3 separate regions of the Homo sapiens genome follow, and all the other regions are linked to region 1. The links are contacts of gene promoters, found by promoter capture Hi-C in blood cells and fetal thymus (Javierre and others, 2016). All regions are on one chromosome and are shown on one strand. Each heading gives the region's core, a stretch centred on a gene start or on the middle of the fragment in contact. The rest is flanking DNA. Distances are from core to core; before and after follow the strand shown.

What was found. The method cuts DNA at HindIII sites, captures the fragments that hold promoters and counts their contacts. A CHiCAGO score of 5 or more calls a contact.
Region 2: a contact is called between a fragment that was not itself captured here and the fragment with the promoter of CTNNBIP1-AS1 in region 1, in 8 of 17 cell types (M0 macrophages, non-activated CD4 T cells, naive CD4 T cells and 5 more). The highest score is 8.2, in M0 macrophages.
Region 3: a fragment that was not itself captured here is called in contact with the fragment with the promoter of CTNNBIP1-AS1 in region 1 in 1 of 17 cell types (fetal thymus); the score reaches 7.0 in fetal thymus.

Annotation. Positions count from the first base shown.
Region 1 is chr1:9,846,635-9,850,289 of GRCh38, reverse strand. It overlaps CTNNBIP1-AS1 (CTNNBIP1 antisense RNA 1), which reads right to left and starts at 1,972. Exons shown (of 3, transcript NR_199045.1): 1 at 1,824-1,972; 2 at 816-921; 3 at 136-304. It overlaps CTNNBIP1 (catenin beta interacting protein 1), which reads left to right. Exons shown (of 6, transcript NM_020248.3): 6 at 1-2,014. RefSeq lists enhancers at 68-117, 198-337, 1,472-1,973. The HindIII fragment of the contact is 10,320 bases long and covers 1-2,297 here.
Region 2 is chr1:9,609,708-9,613,362 of GRCh38, reverse strand. It overlaps TMEM201 (transmembrane protein 201), which reads right to left. Exons shown (of 11, transcript NM_001130924.3): 8 at 3,452-3,523; 9 at 2,558-2,857; 10 at 1,473-1,610; 11 at 1-377. The coding sequence ends at 280. Among named protein-coding and RNA genes, the nearest start is that of TMEM201, 23 kb to the right of the region's middle. RefSeq lists a silencer at 1,408-1,643. The HindIII fragment of the contact is 5,519 bases long and covers 1-3,655 here.
Region 3 is chr1:9,637,774-9,641,428 of GRCh38, reverse strand. It overlaps a transcript of PIK3CD not described here. Among named protein-coding and RNA genes, the nearest start is that of PIK3CD, 12 kb to the left of the region's middle. The HindIII fragment of the contact is 669 bases long and covers 1,336-2,004 here.

The DNA.
Region 1 (3,655 bases), core at 723-3,222:
GCTGGTTAATGGGAAACGGTTTTTTTCTTTGGCTGCAGGTGTTCTGCTGATATCAACAGCTTCCCTATTTTGAATGCAGAAAACAGGGTCTGGGACATTAGTCGTTATATTTGACTTGAAAAGAAAGAAACCAAGTGCGCTTTGCAATATTTATTACACAAAGAACTTGCTGCTGCCTTCACATTTGGGGTTTGTGTTTGATTGGCTTTCGATGCGTGTGTTTGGTTTCCCATTGGTTCACCTGTGACTCCTGTTGCCATGGATTCACCCCCCTCTGCTGCCGGCTCTGGGCCTGAGGGTCCACCTGGAGAGTACATTTGCTTTAATGAGTGCACCTGCCTCCACCAGCAAGGGGACCCCGAGAACCCTGAGCAGGGTCCACAGCTGGAAAGTTGGGCCCCTGAGGAGCTTTGTGTCGTCTTGAACGAGCAGCCCAGGGCCTAGAGGTAACCGTTAGGCGGGATTTATGTGCACTGCCTGCATGAGCTGGCAACCAGCCAGCGTCCCTTGGTGAGAAAGGGATTGCTGAGGCACCGTCCAGGCCCCACCGGCCAGGCCGCGCCCAGCAGAGGCGTACTACCCAGCTCTGTCCTCTTGGCCATCCTTCTGTGTACCACTTCCTGAGGCCTCATTTTGGGGGTCATCTTGGAAAGGGGAGGAGCTTCTCCCAGTGTGAGACCCCAAAGACTCTGGAGGTCATCTGGCGGAGGTCTCTGGGAGCCCAGAACCCACATAAAAGCCCCAGCTTGGCTCACAAGGCCCAGGAGACCTCCAGCTAAACACCAACCCCTGACCTACCCCAGCCAGGCTCCTACCTGTCTGCTGCCAGCACAGTAGGTCCCGGCCAGCTCTGGAGTTCTCTCATCGGAGGCCCATGCCCTCCACTCCACTGCCTTTGGAAGGGTCTCTCTCCAGGTCAGCCTGGAAGGGACAGTATCGTTTGTTTATGAAATGCCACTGGGACAGCTGGCTGGGCCTTCACCAAGCAAGTCCCTTCAGACTGGCCCTTAAGCCAAACTCAGGCCCAGAATTGCAGTTCAGAATGGCAGTCCTGGAGGCAGGGGGTGAGGGGCAGGTCTAGTGTTCCTGCACCAAACCTAAGTCCTTCCACCTGCCACCCCCTTCCCTGGGAGGGAGGTGGTCCTCCTATCTCCCTGGCTCACTGGCAGGTGTGGGATCTGGGGAGAGCGGCTGGAGAAAGATGCAGTCCTCAGGAAGGGGGCCGCCACCCTCCCCTATGCTGGTAGATGCTGAGGCCCCTAGGTGCCCAGGGCCAGTGGGACCCTCTCAGAACCAAATCTTTCCCCTTTCTCGGGGCTTGGGGCTCGGGCCGTAGGGGCTCCTGAGTGTCATGAAGTGCACAGGAGCCAAATGACCGAGCCCTGGAGAGCCCCATGGTGGGTAGGTGGTTCGTGCTGTGCTCTGGCACCATCAGCCTGTTCCAGAAGGAGGATTCGAGCATCAGGCTAAGACCCTGTGTCCTCCACCATGCACTCACCCCTAGCCCTGGTTAGCTGACAGTCAGCTGTGGGGAACACAGCTACAACCCTACCCTGGCAGGGACCTGAGAGCATCTCAGGAGGGGCAGCGCATGTGTGCATGTGCTGTGTGAGTGAGCACACCCGTGTGCACACTCATACACATGTGCACACACACGCACTCTCCCCGCTCAGGGGCCTGGAGGTCTGGCTGAGCCCCTGGGGAAAGGTGAGTTCTTTCATCTCCCTCCTCCAGGTCGGAGTGCCTGGAGTCAGGTGTCGAGGCCACATTGCTGGCTGCCCCCTCTTTGTAGCTCCTATAAAGGGCCCACACCTGGTGGATACCTGGTTGAGTGTGTGGTCTCTGCCCCAGCCTGTCCTTGTCACGATCACAGGCCTTGCTTTTGTAACAATGATGACCCCGGCCTGTCTCATCTTCTGAAGAGGAAAAGTCAAAGTGTTGCTGTGGCTCCATATTTCAACTAAAAATATATCTGTTGGAGAAAGAAATTAACAATAAAGAATTTTCATAGGTTCGTGTGTGAGCTGAGCTGGTTTCTCCCTCGGAATCAGGCGCTCTGACTGATTTCCCCACATCACGTGGGCTCTGCTGCTGCGGGGGCCCCTCCTTCCCAGGGAGGCGCAGCCAGGAAGGACAACACCAAGTTTGATAAGTGTCTGTGACCTGAGTTGAGCTCAGGGTTTGGAAGAATTTCTAGATCTACCCAGCCCAGCTCAAGGGTCGTTAAGAAGGTTGAACCTTCTTTTTGACCTGGAGATTCTAAACATCATTCCAGATTCAACTGAGATCAGTAAGCTTCAGAGGCAACCTCGTCTTCCACACCTATGAAAAGACACTAAGCACTCCGTAAGGATGTGGGGACCCCGCCATCCTAGGCACCCCAACATCCTGATGTGATGGCACCAGTTTTAAAATGCTTGTTACAGACACCCAAACAGAATATCTGTCCCTTCCACCATCCCAGAAGTGGAAGATATATTGGTTTTTAGCTGTATGTACAAGTTTGGAAGCTGAAATCATTTCTGCTTCAATAATTTTTGCTTCAGAAGCATTTTCTAGAAATTTTCATTTCCACCCTTCATAATCCCATTTTTGGGTCTTTTTTTTTTTTTTTCTGTTTACATAGTCTCACTGCTTCTATTTCCTTTTCAAAGAATTTCACTGGGTCCTAGAGGCTATGGAGTTTACAGAATATGAGTACAATGGCACAACCAACATCATTAAGTCTTTGTGTTGGGGGAGATACTGGGTCTTGTAGCAGCCCACGCAGTAGCTAGATGCACAAGCCCCTCTGAAACATTTCTGAAAAGACCTTGTCCAGGCTTTGCTTGAATACTCTCTCGAGTTGGGGAGCTCACTACCTCACAAGTTAGTCCAGACCATGTTCATGTAACCTATGCTTATCCTTACATTAAGTTGATCTGCCTCTTTCTGTAACTTCTTGTCCAGAAAGGAGTTTGCAGTCATTGAGAGAAAGACAGAGATTGCTGTGTTAACCAGAAGTTACATAGAGACACACATCCAAGGGTCCGTGGTAGGTAGATTATGTGCAGATTCCACCCCTTGCCCAGCGCTCTGAGTGACACTGTCAGCCTTGTAGTTAATCAGCTCTTCTAAGCTGAGCCACTGAGTAGTTCAAGGGACTGACCGGCTGGCCCTGGTCCCACCTGCCCAGCCCCCAGCAGAGAGCTTGGAAACCGGAGCCAAGCGGGGTCGTCCTCCTGGCGCTGTCTAACCTGTCTAAGCTGCCTAAACTGTCATGGGAAGTAGGCCACGTAAATGAGTCGGGGACACTTCAGCAGGCAAAGGAAAAACACTGGGGACAGCCTTGGGTCTTTCGGGGTCCGTCAGCCCACACAGCAGGCAACCTCCTGGGTCACCTTCCCAGGTACGGGATGGGGTAATGACCCCAACAGGCAGCGCTGGGACTGCTGCAGCCAGAGACAGCAGGGGGCCAGGCTGAGCCTGCGGGGAAGGAGGCAGAGCTGCCGGAGACAGCAGGGGGCCAGGCCGAGCCTGGGGTGGGGAGGCTGAGGGCTGTGGCCCTTGGTGTTTCCCAGCCTTGGGGGGCGGGCAGTTGAGAATGAATGAAGCGCTTCTTCTCCCTGTCCCTGCAGGTGAATACCAGCACTGAGAATCCAGGCGGGCCCCAGCC
Region 2 (3,655 bases), core at 505-3,004, 240 kb after region 1:
TGGGGCTCCCTGGCTTCGGGATCAGAGTGTCAGCACCAAACACAACCGATGTCAGCCAAGGAGGTGAGTGGGCAGAGAGTGTGACCTCAGACACATGCTCAGCCCTGCAGTCCGTTAGGTGAGGAGGGGCAGGTGTCCTGAGGACAGTCACAGTCCAGTGAGGTCAAGGCCCTGGAGATGAGGGCAGAGGTGGCAGCCCCTCCAGGGAGGGTCCTGAGGCCGGCAGTGGTGAAGCAGCAGGCACCGGGTTGCTCCCCTCCGAGGGGCTCCAACGGTGGGTCAGCGCAGGCTCTGGTACAGAAACACCGAGGTGAACAGGGCGTTGGCGGCCAAGCTCACGGCCAGGAGGCCCCGGACCAGGGAAGGGCCGAAACGACCTGCAAAGCAGAGACCTGGTCAGAACATTGTTTGGGTGGGTGGGTTCGCTGTGCAGCTGAGCAGCCCCCTAGAGCATGCAGTTTGTGGGGAGCTCAAGGCTCTGCCCAGGGTACTCTCTGAGACTGGTGAGGCTCACCCCCAATTCTTCTCTTGGCCAAAGGCTTCCCTAGCAGGAAAGACCCCCACTCCCTGCCTCCCTGAAGGCACAGCTTTTCCTAACCCTGAGCCGCCAGGAAGGCCATGGGCTGGGCTGTCATGAGCTGGGGCCTGGGTGATGAGGCAGTGACCACAATGGCCACTTTACAGATGAGGTCATGGGGGCTGGGAACAGGAGCACCCCATCCAGGCCTCCAAGGGAATAAGCAGCCAACCCAGGTCCACCTGCTGCATGCCGCAGCCTGCGTTCTCACCAAGGCCTCCAAGCTGCTGGGCCACCCTCCAGCCTGGGGCAGCACTGGCTTTGAGAGTCAGTGCAAAATGACCTGCCCAGGAAAAGCCCTGCTTGCTGATCTGTCCATCTCCCTCAACACACACCCCCTCCTCCCCACCCAGGGAGTGATGATGTGTACCACAGATCTGGTCTCTTGCCCCTGAGCCCCAGGGTTAGTGAGCAGAGAACCTGGGATCTGAGCCAGGCAGCTCGGCACCCGGTGCAGGCTGCAGCCCCAGCGTGACGTGGTCCCGGTGCACCCAGGCTCTCTGGGCACTTCCGGCCAGGATGGCAGCCTTCGGTATGTGTCCTAAATGCCAGCCACGGGCCACAGGTGCCTACTGAGCACTTGAAATGTGGCTAGTGCAGCTCAAGAACTACATTTCAAACTTTATTTAATTTTAATTCAGTTAATTTAAATAGCTGCCTGGGGCCAGAAGCTACTGGAATAGTGCAGATCGGGGCCCAAATCCCGAGAGGGGGAGTGCCGTCTACTGAGTCCCTGACCCTGGATTCAGAGGCGCCGGGTGGGTTACTTGTCGGCCACTCAGGGACTGCAATGTCCTGGAAGATTCTTTCTGTCAGTGCTCTGGACCCCCCTGGGGGAGATGGTGGCTTCGGATGTGTGCCCACCCCCTCCCCTCCCGCACCTCAGGGTACAGACCTCTCCAGGTGGCGGCCTCCTCCGAGCAGCCCCTGGTGGTGGTGTCCACCACACAGGTAGATGACTGGGAAGAGTCGTCCTCTTTCTTGATGGAGCGGTTGCTGCAGGCACTGCCTCTTTCCAGCTTGGATCTCAGGTCTGCAGAGAGAAGGGTGTGTTTCTCAGTGGCGCTCATGGCTCCCTCCAGGGACAGACGCGGGGCAGCTGTACTTCCACTCTAAGGACAGTTGTCAGAAGTGGTGAGCCAGGCTGTCCCAAGCCACTCATCCACCCTGGACAGTGGGGGGCCAGGTCCTTGCTCAACTGTCCTGCCACCTCTTGTCTGCCAGTATTCAGGCCCAAGGTGACCAGATCTCTGACATTGAAAGAGACGTGGGAAATCTAAACATTCGAGGCCGGGCGCAGTGGCCCACGCCTGTGATCCCAGCACTTTGGGAAGCCAAGATGGGTGGGTCACTTGAGATCAGGAGTTCAAGACCAGCCTGGGAAACATGGTGATATCCCGTCTCTACTAAAAATATAAAAATTAGCCAGGCATGGTGGCGCGCACCTGTAGTCCCAGCTACTCGGGAGGCTGAAGCAGGACAATCTCTTGAACCCTGGAGGAGGAGGTTGCAGTGAGCCAAGATCACGCCACTGCACTCCAGCCTGGGCGACAGAGTGAGACTGCATCTCGAAAAAAAAAAAAAAAGGAAATCTACAAATTCATGTGAAAGTTGAAAGTTGTAGGTTTTAAAGGCTGGGGGCTAACTATAAACATTTTAAATGCTTTGCAGTACAGCACCATTTGAGTGAAACTATCTGTGGCCACACGCACCTGGCAATGCGTGATGTGTTTTCGATCAGTTCCAAGAAACAGAGGACCCTGAAGGTCAACTGCAAAAGGAGAAACTGAAATCAGCCATTAGAGGTCAATGTCCCAGAGGGTTCAAGTCACCAGAGCCGGAATGGGGTGCCTAGAGCTCCAGGGTGGGAAGGCGCACACCGGAGTCAGAGCAAGGATGAGCCCCCCCACCGCCGCACAGCCAGGCCTCTTGGCAGCAGAGGCCCTCCCACGGCCCCTTGGGGTGGTCAGAAGGCCGTACCCAGGGCGTGCTTCACGTCCTGCAGGGGCGGCTTCCGGGGAACATGGGGCGGCTCCATGGTGAAGAGGCTGCCGTTGTGAGGCGAGTGCTCATCGGAGCTGCTGGGCGTGGTGGGGGCCTCTCCAGGGGGTGACGGGAACAGCAGCAGCTTCTGTCCCTTCAGGTTGAGCCGGGCAGGGCTGATGAGGGGCCTGCGGTGGCGCAGAGAGCCGGAGCTGGAGGCCACCGAGCCGGCCACGGAAGGCGCTGGGGAAGGGAGTGGGGAGGAGGGGCAGCTCCCCGACAGAAGAGAGAAGTAATCTGGAGGGAGGGAGGAAGATGATGTGAACGTGGGCTCCTGTCACTGCAACGCTACAATGCGCTATTTCATTTCTGGGGGCATTCTTCTATTAACCCGGGAAGACAGGAAAGGTGCAGAGACTGGGGACAGGGGGAAGTCCTGCTGCAAAGCTGAAGGAGGAGAGGTGCCCTCTACCAGGCACCTGAGGGAGAGGAGAGATCCCGGAGCCTCAGCCATGGCCTTCTGCCCTTGATTTCCATCCAAAGCCCTGGGTACCATCAGCTGAGAGCAAGGCCAGATAGCAGCAAACCCTGGAGGTACAAGGCCAGCTCACCCGAGGCCTTGCTGCCAGCTGGCACCTGGTGCACCAGTTCCAGCCGTGACTGCCACTGAGGACGGCAGAGCAGCATGGTACCATCTGATCCTAGAGACTGTCATTCCCATTTCACGCAAGAGGAAACTGAGGCACAGGTGTGTAGGTCACTTGCCCAGGGCTGAGATGTGAACACACACTTGGGGTCTGTCTGACCCCAAAGCTCACACAAACCACCATGCTCTGGAACGCCCGGGCTTCATGTTGCCCCGTCCCCCACTTAGCTCTCTGTCTTCCTCACCTGAAACAGGAAACTCCCCAGATCGAGACACCTGAGATGGTGGGCGGCTACCGCTGAACAGATAGCCGGAGTCTGGAGACAGAGAGAAGCGGGCGACACGTCAGGCCTGTGGATGACGTGCAGAGGCCCCCACAAATGCTCTGCCGAAATCCCAATCCAGCCTTTGCTCTTTACAAATGTGCTTTCATGGAAACACAGGTGCTC
Region 3 (3,655 bases), core at 421-2,920, 210 kb after region 1:
CACAAGGGAACAATAATGTACCCTCTGACCCAGGGCTGGGGGAGGGTTCAATGAATCCCTAGTCCTGCTTCTGATACAAAGTTCAAGAGGTGGTGGAGGAAGTGGGGAAGCAGCAGAGTTTGGGGTCAGGCACCTGGATTCAACCTCATGCCCTCCATACACTGGAGGTGACCCGGGCTTTGCAACACTGATTCATCCAGCAAGTGTGTATCTTGCAGCAAGCTGTGCCTGATACAGTTGGGCTCTGGAGATGCAGCACTGGACAAGCCCCAGGCCTGCCGCCCCCGCAACCCCCTGGAGTTTATACTCAGTAAGGAAGAGAAACTAAGAAGAATAAAAATAAGATACAGTGTTGTGCTGCCGAAAAATGTAAGATAGGAGGGGAGAGACAGGGGAAGGGGGACTACAGAACTAGGAAGGCCTCCTTGAGGTCAGGACACTGGAGCTGAGCACGGACCTGGATGAACTGACGGAGGAGAAGCCGCGTGGGTCTCGAAGGCCAGAGCATCGCAGGCTTTGGGAAGAAATGGTGCAAAGGCCCTGGGCAGTGGTGGCATGCTGGAGGCAGGGAGGCCCAAGTTGGGTGCAGATAGCAAGGAGGATGCGGGAGGGGGCAGCTGAGGATTTGGATTTGACCAAAAGAGCACTGAAAAGCAGAGGGAAGGTTCCAGGCTGAGCCGGGGAGTGGCGGGACTGTGATTCACATGTGAAAAAGCCTGCAATAGACACCCGTACATTTCCTTGCTCAGTCAAATGGAAAGACCTAGAAGCAACAACACCCCAGGAGCAAGGAGAATGCACCAGCACACCAGCATCTTGATTTTCGTTTCTTTTTTTTTTTCTTTTTTTGAGACAGAGTTTTGCTCTTGTTGCCCAGGCTGGAGTACAATGGCACAGTCTCGGCTCACTACAACTTCCGCCTCCCTGGTCAAGCGATTCTCCTGCCTCGGCCTCCCAAGTAGCTGGGATTACAGGCGCCCACCACCACGCCTAGCTAATTTTTGTATTTTTAGGAGAGATGAGGTTTTACCATGTTGGTCAGGCTGGTCTTGAACTCCTGACCTCAGGTGATCCACCTGCCTTGGCCTCCCAAAGTGCTGGGATTACAGGTGTGAGCCACCGTGCCTGGCTTGGATCTTGGTTTCTGATACCATTTTCCTCCACAAAAGGAACCAGGGCTCCCTGGGGAAACTGGCAATTCTAGGATGAGGGCAAGAAACGGACAGATGAAACTGGAGCATCTTAAAGTTCCAGAAAGAAAAGAAGTGCTTCCAAACAAAACACCACAATGATGGGTGCATATCTCGGGGGTCACAGCGATGAACTGAAAAAGCTTCCAGTGGCCAAAGCTAGAACAACTTGAGCAATGAAAGAAAGAAAGAAAGGAGGTCGGGCACGGTGGCTCCCACCTGTAATCCTAGCACTTTGGGAGGATGAGGCAGGAGGATTGTCTACACTGAGGAGTTCAAGACTAGCCTAGGAAACATAGTGAGCCCTCGTCTCCACTAAAAATAAAAACAAATTCAAAAAAATTAGCCAAGCATACTGGTGGGTGCCTGTAATCCCAGCTACTCGGGAGGCTGAGGCACAAGAATCGCTTGAACCCGGGAGGCAGAGGTTGCAGTGAGCCACGATCGCGCCACTGCACTCCAGCCTGGATGACAGAGCGAGCCTCTGTCTCAAAGAAACAACAAACAAACAAACAAAAACCCTGAAGATAACGGTTGAGGTTGAGGGGCAGGCAGAGGCAGAGCCCCAGAAGAGGGAGGCGCAAAACTCCAGAAAGCGAGGCCTTATTCTCCCAGCCCTGCCCTGGAAATTCTGTCCTTGGGGCCGGGGTGGGGGGCTCAGCCTCCCCTTCTGGGGGCCCTGAAATGCAGCCCTGCCCCCAACCCTTCAGTCTGTTTCTTCTGTAAAAATGAGGTTAGTTACTCCAACTTCAGAGAAGTTGTGAGGCTAAAAATAGACGTTTTAGCAAAAGTGGTTTAGAGACGAGTAAAAGCTTTGCAAATAGGTTACCCTCTCGGGGGTGCTCAGCAGGATGGAGCTGGGCCCTGCCCCATCCACCACTACCTAGGGTGCTCCTGCTCCAAAAGCCTCTATCTCTCTAGATAAATACCCACTCTCGGTAGTTAGCCCTCTATCTTGAAAAGCACCTAGTGTGAGGAGTAACCCCACGTGAATCCCCAAAATCCTCTATGAGAAGGAATAGAGATGGTTACTTTTTCCCAGGACAGAAAGACAAGGATGAAAAAGTGTACATGCAGGAGAGGGAGAAGGTTTAGGATTAGAAGAAACCATTTCCCACATGTAGTGAGTTGAATGGTGGCCTCTAAAAAGATACGTCCAAATCCTAATCCCAGGCCGGAGGCGATGGCTCACGCGTGTAATCCCGACATTTTGGGAGGACAAGGTGGGCAGATGGCTTGAGCCCAGGAGTTTGAGACCAGCCTGGGCAACATGGCAAAATCCCATCTCCACAAAAACTAGCAGGGCATGGTGGTGGGCACCTGTAGTCCCAGCTCCTCCTGAGGCTGAGGCGGGAGGATCACTTGAGCCCAGAAAGCAGAGGGTGCAGTGAGCCGAGATCACACCAAGGCACTCCAGCCTGGGCGACAGAGCAAGACTCTGTCTCAAAAAAAAAAAAAAAATCTTGCAAAAGGGTCAGATGATTGAAGTTTTTTTTTTTTTTTTTTTGAGAAGGAGTCTCGCTCTGTCACCCAGGCTGGAGTGCAGTGGTGCAATCTCGGCTCACTGCAAGCTCCGCCTCCCGGGTTCTGGCCATTCTCCTGCCTCAGCCTCCCAAGTAGCTGGGACTACAGGCGCCCGCCACCACACCCCGCTAACTTTTTGTATTTTTAGTAGAGACGGGGTTTCACCGTGTTAGCCAGGATGGTCTCAATCTCCTGACCTCGTGATCCGCCCGCCTCGGCCTCCCAAAGTGCTGGGATTACAGGTGTGAGCCACCGCTCCCGGCCTAGATGATTGAAGTTTTTATAGCATCGGAAGCGGGTTTGGAGGTTCTGCAGGGAGGGGTGACAAGCTATGGGGAGGTGAGGGAGGCATGAGTGCACAGGGAGTGAAAAGCTGCAGATAACGGCTCTCAGGTAATTTTGGAACTGCCCTCAGCAGAACAGGTGATGGTCTGTGGCAATCTATCTGGGCGGTTGCCTGTGAGTCTCTTTTCCTCTGATAGGATCTTTCCTAGACCCATCTTTAGGTTGATAAGGAGCCTTAGAGAAAGCCTCTGCTTGCATCCACTGCTTACTCACGTAGAGCTCCTTTATTTTTTCATTTATTTATTTATTTATTTATTTATTTTGAGACAGAGTCTCGCTCTGTTGCCCAGGCTGGAGTACAATGGCGCAGTCTCAACTCACTGCAACCTCTACCTCCCGGGTTCAAGCAATTCTCCTGCCTCTGCCTCCCGAGTAGCTGGGACTACAGGCGCCTGCCACCATGGCTGGCTAATTATTTTTGTATTTTTAGTAGAGACAGGGTTTCACCATGTTGGCCAGGCTGGTCTCGAAGTCCTGACCTCAAGTGATCCGCCTGCCTTGGCCTCCCAAAGTGCTGGGAGCCATGGCGCCCAGCCTAGAACTTCTTTACAGGTGTATGGTTTTTACAGAAGAACAACTTTTCAGAGGTATTCCCG